Linked DNA regions of Homo sapiens: region 1 is linked to region 2. The links are contacts of gene promoters, found by promoter capture Hi-C in blood cells and fetal thymus (Javierre and others, 2016). All regions are on one chromosome and are shown on one strand. Each heading gives the region's core, a stretch centred on a gene start or on the middle of the fragment in contact. The rest is flanking DNA. Distances are from core to core; before and after follow the strand shown. Region 1 has its middle 88 kb from the start of LINC02349. Region 2 holds the start of RORA (RAR related orphan receptor A).

Evidence for each region. The method cuts DNA at HindIII sites, captures the fragments that hold promoters and counts their contacts. A CHiCAGO score of 5 or more calls a contact.
Region 1: a fragment that was not itself captured here is called in contact with the fragment with the promoter of RORA in region 2 in 1 of 17 cell types (M2 macrophages); the score reaches 5.2 in M2 macrophages.

Annotation. Positions count from the first base shown.
Region 1 is chr15:61,815,594-61,820,079 of GRCh38, reverse strand. No RefSeq gene overlaps it. Among named protein-coding and RNA genes, the nearest start is that of LINC02349, 88 kb to the right of the region's middle. The HindIII fragment of the contact is 5,849 bases long and covers 1-4,486 here.
Region 2 is chr15:61,226,793-61,231,183 of GRCh38, reverse strand. RORA (RAR related orphan receptor A) reads left to right here and starts at 1,882. Exons shown (of 11, transcript NM_134261.3): 1 at 1,882-2,131. The coding sequence starts at 1,966. The HindIII fragment of the contact is 13,095 bases long and covers 1-4,391 here.

The sequences.
Region 1 (4,486 bases), core at 1,123-3,622, 590 kb before region 2:
GACTTGGCTGCAGGGTTTTTTCTTTTCTTTTTTTTTTAAGGTTTAGCATACAGTACGATTATTTTAAAATTGCTTTGGAAGAATGTATTTCATCAGCAAACTACGAGCATGCTTATTACTGAAGTTTGGAGGCAATTTGAGAGGAAGGATAAATTAGCACAGACTCTGGGGGCCTCAAAGCGTGCCCTCCCTCATCCTCCCTGCTCCCTCTCCCCGGAGCTCAGGAAACCTTTCACTCTCGGTGCCTCTACAACTCCTGCCTGCTTCACACACGTCCACCAGTCAAGGTCATTAATGATTTGGGGATGGGGAAGGGCTGATGGGGAAATTCCTGCTTCCCATGAGAACCACGGCACTGCTGAGAGGAAGGATGGAGAAGGGGCAAGAAGTTAACCCAAGAGCTCCCTACAAATCCGGGATCCTGAAAGCCGGTGTGAAGAAGAGCTGCTGTAGATAGCAGAGCCTGCGGGAAACCAAAGGCTTTGCTTGCTCGGGGACACAGATGCCTTCGCGAGAAGTGGGACTGTCGAGTGAGCTGCCAACACTTAAACAGTGGTCAGATGCTGGGTGTGGTGGCTCATGCCTGTAATCTCAGCACTTTGGGAGGCAGAGGCGGAGGATCACTTGAGGTCAGGAGTTTGAGACTAGCCTGGGCAACATAGTGAGACCCCATCTCTACACAAAATTTAAAAATTAGCCAGGCATGGTGGCATGCACCTGTGGTACCAACTACTTGGGAGGCTGAGGCAGGAGGATTGCTTGAGCCTGGGAGGTCGAGGCTTCAGTGAGCCATGACGGTGTCATTGCACTCCAGCCTGGGTGACAGAGTGAGACCCTGTTTCAAAAAAAAAAAAAATCATAGAGGGTGGTTTATAAACAATAGAAATTTATTTCTCACAGCTCTGGGGGCTGGGAGTCCAAGATCAAGGCACCAGCAGATTCAGTGTCTGGTGAGGGCTGCTTTCTGGTTCACAGCAACTTCTCCCACTGTGTCATCCCATGGTAGAAGGGGTGAGGGGCCTCTCTGGGGTCTCTCTTATAAGGGCAGTAATCTCATTCAGGGCTCTGCCATCATGACCTAATCACCTCCCAAAGGCCCCACCTCCAAATACCACCACATTGGGAATTAGGCTTCAGCATTTGAATGTTGGAAGACATGAACATTCAGTCTACGGCAGGAGTGAATTACTGACACGATAGCATGGTGAATCTCAGAAATGCTACATTTAATGCAAGAGGCCAAACAAGGCCATGCTATATGAGTCCACTGATATTACCATTCTAGAATAGGTGAAACTATCTATGGTAAAAAATATCAGAAGCATGGTTGCCTCTGGGGAGGAGAAGATTGATTGGAAGAGGGCATGAGGGAACACTCTGTGGGGATGGAAATGTTCTGTATCCTGATGAGGGTGTTTCTCCATGGGTGTATATGTTTGTCAAAACAAATGAAACTGTGTGCTTTAAAAAAGTATCATGGTGGCCGGGCGCGCTGGCTCATGCCTGTAATCCCAGCACTTTGGGAGGCCGAGGCAGGCAGATCACAAGGTCAGGAGATCGAGACCATCCTGGCTAATACGGTGAAACCCCGTCTCTACCGAAAATACAAAAAATTAGCCGGGCATGGTGGTGGGTGCCTGTACCCCCAGCTACTTGGGAGGATGAGGCAGGAGAATGGCTTGAACCTGGGAGGCGCAGCTTGCAGTGAGCTGAGATCGCGCCACTGCACTCCAGCCTGGGGGACAGAGCGAGACTCCGTCTCAAAAAAAAAAAAAAAATATCATGGTGATTTACCACTGCTGTAGATGAATGAGATGAAGGTAGATAGAAACTCATGGCCAATCGTAGCCACATGTAAGCCTGCAGGTGACTCAGCTCCACAGGAGGGCACCACCTCAAGGGTTTACCCTTTATCTCTGCTAAGAAATTGAGTCACTGCAGCCTTCTATTCCTGCTTAGGGGCCTGCCCTCTTATCCTAGCCACGAGCTAAATATCTAAATACTGCCCCACTCTCAGGGGAGGCAGCCTTGTTTTCTGAGTAATATATTCAACCTAGAGTCCACACCATTCATATCTTGGCGAGAAATGCCTGGCAGAGATTGCATTAAGTCAAATGCTAGAGGACAGAGGCTGATGACGTGTGTGCCTCCCGGGGCTGGTGTGAAGGGAGCCACCTCATTCGTATGAGATGATAGTTCCCAAGGAACGTTTTCTTCTTCCTGTCTGTCTTTCCTCCTTCCTTTCTTTTTTTTTTTTCTTGGTAGCAAAGACCTCTTCACATTGACAAATTATGAATATGCAGAAAAGATGGTATGAGACCACTCTGCGTCTCTGAACTGAGGCCAGTTTAATTCCTAGGACTCTAGTCACTGGTACTTTTCCTGCATTTTCAGCAGCACCTGAAATAGATTTTGCTTCATATGAAATGCAAAACACTGCAGAGTAGAAAGCTCACCCTGGTCTCTGATCCAGGCGAGTGTTCTCAAGCCTGGTGTTCATATTTTTTTCTCCCTTTCTTCAAAATACTGCCTTGCTAAGCCCACAGATGGGGATCATAGGATAAGTAGATGCATAATATATTACCCAAAATATTCCACCAGGCATCTTCTCTTACAGGTCAGGAGGACTTGCAAATGGAGCCTTCTAGGTCACCGCATTTCCATCTGAAGGAAAGTCTCCCTCATAATTAAGATTATGTCAGCATTTCCATTACGGAACCCAGTGGTAAAATCCACTCTGAAGTGCAGCTTGGTTTTAAAGCTCTTCGTCTTGGAGAGAACTCTTTGTCTCTCTGATAATGGTTTGCCTCGCTTTTTACCTTGGAAACTAGAGAAAGAAAAATGCATAGTAAGTCAGGAGTAGGGGGCTATGCTGCCCTGCGAAGCCATCAGTGGGCCTGGCTATTGGTCAAGGAGTTGGGAAGAGGAGGTTCGGGGGCCCCTGCGGTCTCCTGGATGGCAGACCAGTGAGGCAGCAGGAGCCTCTGTGTCCCAGCTGGGGTTCCCCAGGCTGTCCCCTGCTGATCCTCTCTATCGGAATCACCTGGGCAGAGCCTGTTCTGAATGCAGATTCTTGCCCTCCTATGGCACCGTCTACTTGACCCACCCAATCAGAATATCTGGGGCGGGGCCTGGGAATCTGCATGTCCTAACTACCTTTCCCAGATGATTCCTTTTCCCAGGAAACCTGAAGTTGCACGGGTGTAGACTTTGCTGTATTGTTGCTGGTGACCTTGGCCAAATCTCTTTACCTCATTATTATGCCTCAGTTATAAAATAACAGCTAACATGTATTGAGTGCTTACCCTGTGCCAAGCATGTTCTAAGGGTCTCATGAATTAACTCATCTAATTCTCACAGCAGCCCTATGAGGTGGATACTATAATTATCTACACAGAGAGGTTGAATAAGTTGCCCAAATCACACAGCTAGTAGAGCCGTAGCGTGAGCTTTGAAGCCAGCATTCTGGCTCTGCCGTGCCATGCTGCCTCTTGGAGGATAATTATAGTTCTCACTGTCCTGGGCTGTGAAGGGGCAAATGAAGTGGGAGATGTAAAGCTGCTTTGTGGCCTGCATGGTTATTTTTATGGTATTTTTATCTTAGGTTATCTTTATCCAGTTCCCTATTTAAGACTGTCTTGGTCCTTCCCAATCTCCTCTTTTATCCTCTCTTCCCCCTTCCCGGTCCCACGCAAATCTTTGATTTGTGAACAACTAATCTCACTGGCTAATTTACACTCAGGTGTTCATAAATGATGACAGCCTAATGCGATTGTTTTTCTCAGATAACACCCTTTCATTTTAGCTGGAGTTTTAACTCAGAATTTCTAATCTGCAGGCACCAGGGACCCCCTTGCTATCTTCCCCCTTCCCAGCCCTGTGCTCCGTGGGTGTTTCTGAAAGAAGCAAACTTCATTAACTAATTAGGAATCTATTCCATATATACATCTTTATATTTTATAAAATGGGAGATAATCCACCGGTATTATTTCTGGGGCTTTTCTAAAATCTTGAAAATGCCAGGAGACGTCCTCCTCATTACCATCTTAATGGGTTGCCAGGTGTCTGGGGACCTCTTGGAAGAAGCCATTTTCAAAGTCTGTTGTTTGTGGTTGTGGTGGGTATGAGTTTGTGACAGGATGTGTCCTGCCCTGGCTTTGGGTCAGGCTGGTCCAGCTTACCAGGACTTTGTTCCCTAAGGGGTTGCTGAGAGGACGGACTGCTCACAGGGCAGCTGCTGAGGTACAGAACCCACAGGTCGGGGACACGGTCACTGCCAGCTGCCACTCAAGAAAGAAGACGTGGCAGGAAGTTGCTGTGAAAGGTGAGCATATTAGCACGAGAGTCATAGTGTCCTTTTCCCCTCTGCGAAACCGGTCTTGTTCTCTGTTTCATTAATTTATACGTTCTCTGTGCTCGGTATGTGCATCTGTCACGTAGCAGTGGCTGAAAAAGTGCTGAGTGTGGGATGACTTGGTGGCCTGTG
Region 2 (4,391 bases), core at 633-3,132:
CTGAGATGCTCACTGTCCCAGAGGAAGTTGTTTCTTAAACTGTACACTTTGATATATTTGTTTCCTTAGAAAAGTCAAGTGTAACAAGCTAGGTCAATTGCATCAAGAACATTACTAACAGGCTAACCAATGGTAAATGTTGTGAAGGCTACTCTGGAAATCTGTGCTTTCACGTATGGGGAAACCCACACGTCTGATTTGGGATGGAGGAGACAATTGTGCATTGTTTGTAGGCGCCAACAGACAGGCTAAAGCCAGGGATCCTTGCAGAGACAGGATTAAGGTATCAGGACTGTTCACATCTCATTTACATCACCCCGAAGAGTGGACCACAGGTTTTGCTGATTAGTACACAGACTATGGCAAAGGGCATTGTGTATTTGAAATAAGATCAAGATCAGTAACAGTAACAGAAACTATGTGTGAAATTTGGCATATGGCGGTTCCTCTGAAGGATTAGCTAACTGGGTTTCCCGCACTTACTATTTTTTAAAGCATTTTTCCAAACCAGGAAGTTAGCAAAAGAAAAATGTCCCCCAATTCCCTCCGCCTACCCCACGTTCTGAAGCACATATATTTATGCCACCTTCTGGCCTCTAATAATATTATTTATTGTCAAAATTTTGGATCCTTTTGAAAGGAAGGTGGGGCGTATTTCCACAGTGTCTTCGCAGGCAAAAGAAAGTGGTAGATTGAGTATGAAGGCAGACAAATCAGGCTACTACCATTGGAGTATTTTCCATTCTTTCAATTTGTATTGTTCCTTCATCTTGGAGTTTGCAGTCAAGGTAACGATGATGCAATTATCTGCTTTCCTGGAGTTTTAGGTACCTACTAGGGGATGAATGTATTTCAATGGGAGGAGGGTGTAGAATGATGCCTATAATAATACGAATTATTAGGAGCTGTTAATTATCTGAATGTTATCCGGGCATTAGTAATGCCTCTCCAGTATATCTACCTTTTATGGATGAGACTGTACATTTAATAGGAAAAGTACCAGTGGGAATTGACAATTAGCAGCCACGCTTGAGCTAGATGCAGCGTGGCATGTTTTATCCAGCTTAGATAGTTGTCGACCAAACAGGCCAAAGTTTTCTTCAGTAGAAAATGCCCTGCCAAATGGTTTCTGGATCCTTCGCGGACAAACAGCAAAGGAGCTGAAAGCGACCTCTTTCAACCATGCCAGAAACTGTCCATGGCGCTTCTAGATTCACAAAATCTGTTTTAGACACAGATGTCTTTAACCAAGATTGGAAACCCACTGGCCGTCCCATCCCAAAGTAAAAAGTGCCACGTCCTCCCATCCTCCGCCTTCCTTGGGATGTCAGCCCCGTTCTAATTCCTTTTTAGTTTCTCCTCAGCCCTCGGCAGGGCTGGCAGGGGGCTACCTGCGATTTCCCAACGTGGACGTGGACAATCGGATTTGTCTCTACCCAAGCTGGCAGCGGATGGGGACGAGTTCTGTTCCCGAGAGAGTCTCAGAAGTAGGCACGGAATCATCTCACCGATTTTAATTTCTGTCCCTGGGCTGGGGAGAGGGGAGGATTGGGGCGCGGGAGGCTCTGTTCTCCTCCTCCCCTCTTTTCCCCACCTCCCAAAATTGGCAGCCAGTCTGTGGCTCTCGGTCTGGGGTCTGGAGGGTGGGGAATGTGGGTGTGGGGGCCGGCTGGAGAAGCTCTCGCTAGCGCTGCCTGTGGCCAGACCCGCCTCTTGTCCCCTTTCGGGCGCACACACACGTCCACCCAGACACTCCGCGCGCTCCCTCGCGCTTTTGCTTGCCCGCCCGCCGCCGCCTGCTTTTTCCCTCCTGCTTTCGCCGGTCGCCTTCTCCTTCTTTTTTTTTTTTTTTTTTTTTTTTTTTTTTTTTTTTTTTTTTTGGTACCATAGAGTTGCTCTGAAAACAGAAGATAGAGGGAGTCTCGGAGCTCGCCATCTCCAGCGATCTCTACATTGGGAAAAAACATGGAGTCAGCTCCGGCAGCCCCCGACCCCGCCGCCAGCGAGCCAGGCAGCAGCGGCGCGGACGCGGCCGCCGGCTCCAGGGAGACCCCGCTGAACCAGGAATCCGCCCGCAAGAGCGAGCCGCCTGCCCCGGTGCGCAGACAGAGCTATTCCAGCACCAGCAGAGGTAGGAGGCTGGAGAGGGGCTGGGGAGGGGGCGGCGGGAGCCCGGGCGCGGAGCGGGGGGCGGCCGGGAGCGGGCGCCCGGGGCGCGGGGTCCGGCGGCCGCGCGCGAGCCTGCGGCGGCGCCCCGAGCCCGGAGGACCCCCCTCCCCTCCCCCCTCCGCCCCCCAGAAATGTTGCAAACTTTTGCAGCCCGTTCTCGGCTTGCGGGAGCAGAGTGGGGCGGGGGAGGCGGCGGGAAGGTTGACAGCCGGCGGGCTCACCCCCCTGGCTTTGATTTTTCTGCAAACACTGGAGGAAAGCTGCGTTGCCTCAATTAAATACGCTCCCCCAAAATACGGAGATGCGGGGAGTGGGGGCCCGGGAAAGAAACTTTTAAAGCGGCAGTGTCCTTTTAAGAAGGGGCAAAAAAATCTGTTTATGGCCACCCTCCTTCCGCTTTACCTTTTCTCCTCTTGACAGTTTCGGCCCTGGCTGCCCGAGTCGGGGGTGTGTTTTCGGTCCCTCTCAGATCTGGGCGGGGGGCGGGAGGAGTGAGCGACCTGGGAAGTCCCGGGGGTGGAGAGGGGGCGCTCCGGGGTCTGGGGGCGACGTGGACACCTTCTTTGGAGCACGGCGGTGCGTTTGGGATTTGAAGGAAGGGCCGAAGGAAGCGGGGTGCGGGCGGGCGAGCTGTTCGCCAAGTTGTCTGGCGGGCGCGGCGAGGGGAGATGCGCAAGTTTGCAGACCGGGGGTTCGGAGCCCGGCGCCCAGGCTGGCGGGGGGCGTGTGCGCGCCAACGCGCAGAGGGCGGCGGTCCTGTGGGGCGCTCCACGCGCATCCGGAGGGAGCGTCTACAAAAGCAAGCACCGAAACTTATTTCTGCTCTGGGAATCCTTCCCTCTCGGAGGTTCCAAGCATTTCTGCAGGAACCTGGGGATGGTCAGTGCAAGTTGTATGCTGGTTGGATAGTGCAAGCAATGTTTTCTCCTCCCCTGGCGATTTTTACTCTTCATTTTGGTGTTTGGTCTGTGTCTGCGTGTGTTGGGGGGGATGGGGGGGACTCAGTTGCTCCCTCCTTTCCTAAAGTGAGCTGTTGAGGAAAGCTCACTCTTTCTTGAAGGTATTGGAACCTGATGTGTGTTTTTCTCGAGAGTGGGGGATTATTTATTTGAATGCGCCTGGAGTTTGCAAAGAACAGGAGGAAGCTACAGCTTTAATTACTGTTGTAAATAATGTATAAATCGCGCCTGTCACTCCGGAGGAAGCGTGCTCGCGCGAGCCGCCTGGAGCTGGGGACGGAGAGGATTTCTCCAGCCCCGGCTTGGGTACCGGCCCAGCGCGCCCCCTCCTCTTGCACTCGGCTTCTGGCGGCGGTTGGGGAGGGCTGGGTAGAGGCGAATGGGGGCCCCAGGAACTGCTCCCTTCCTCTCGATGTTGTAGTTGGAGGTAGGAATATGGCTGATCATGTGCTGGCTGTTTTACAGTATCCCCCCCCCCACCTTAGCCACACCCCCTGTCCAGGCGCTTTCCCATTCACGGAATTCGAGTACAGTAAAAGCCATCAGGATGACACACGCGAAAAACATTTAATTAAAGGCGATTTCCAAAGGGTGACCGCGGCGAACCGCGGTTTCAGCGGGAGGGGGGCGGCGAGGGCTGGGACAAAAGGGAAGGGGATGAGGGCTGGGGGCCTGGACCTGCCGCTAGCTCGGTGAGTTTGTGTGCGGGGAGCTTTTGGCTGCAAAGAGTATATTTAGACCCTGAGACGGTGGATTTGGAATGCGAGCGGGTTATGTAACAGGGTTAATCAGAAACACTGGAGAAAATCCCCTTCATGTGTTTCTGGGGCTTTTTTTTTTTTTTTGGAATGGGGGGGACATAGTATTTAGGAAGCTGCACTAATTTTTGGTTTGTGCTGCCACCTTTCTCCTTCTTGACCCCCCCACACCCTGTGTTATTAACATCTTCAGGTGTCATTCTTGCCAGAAGGTGTTCTTGCAAGCGATCAGGGTGGCAGGCTGCAGAGCCGACTAGCAAATCCGTAACTTGCTGTTCTTGCAAATTATGTAACGCCGGAGCATTCAGTGCCACCAGCCCCCTTAGGCTCAGCAAAAAGGGGAGAGGGGCATAGTAGGAGTGGGATACATCTTGCACAGCTGACCTGCTGACCCATATCCCCTTCCCCCCACCCTCTGCCCCCACCCCAACTCATTCTTTGAACCAGCCCCTGTCTGTCCCTCCTGGAAGATTTAATGGGAGGGGGGTGGTAAGGCCCAAACACT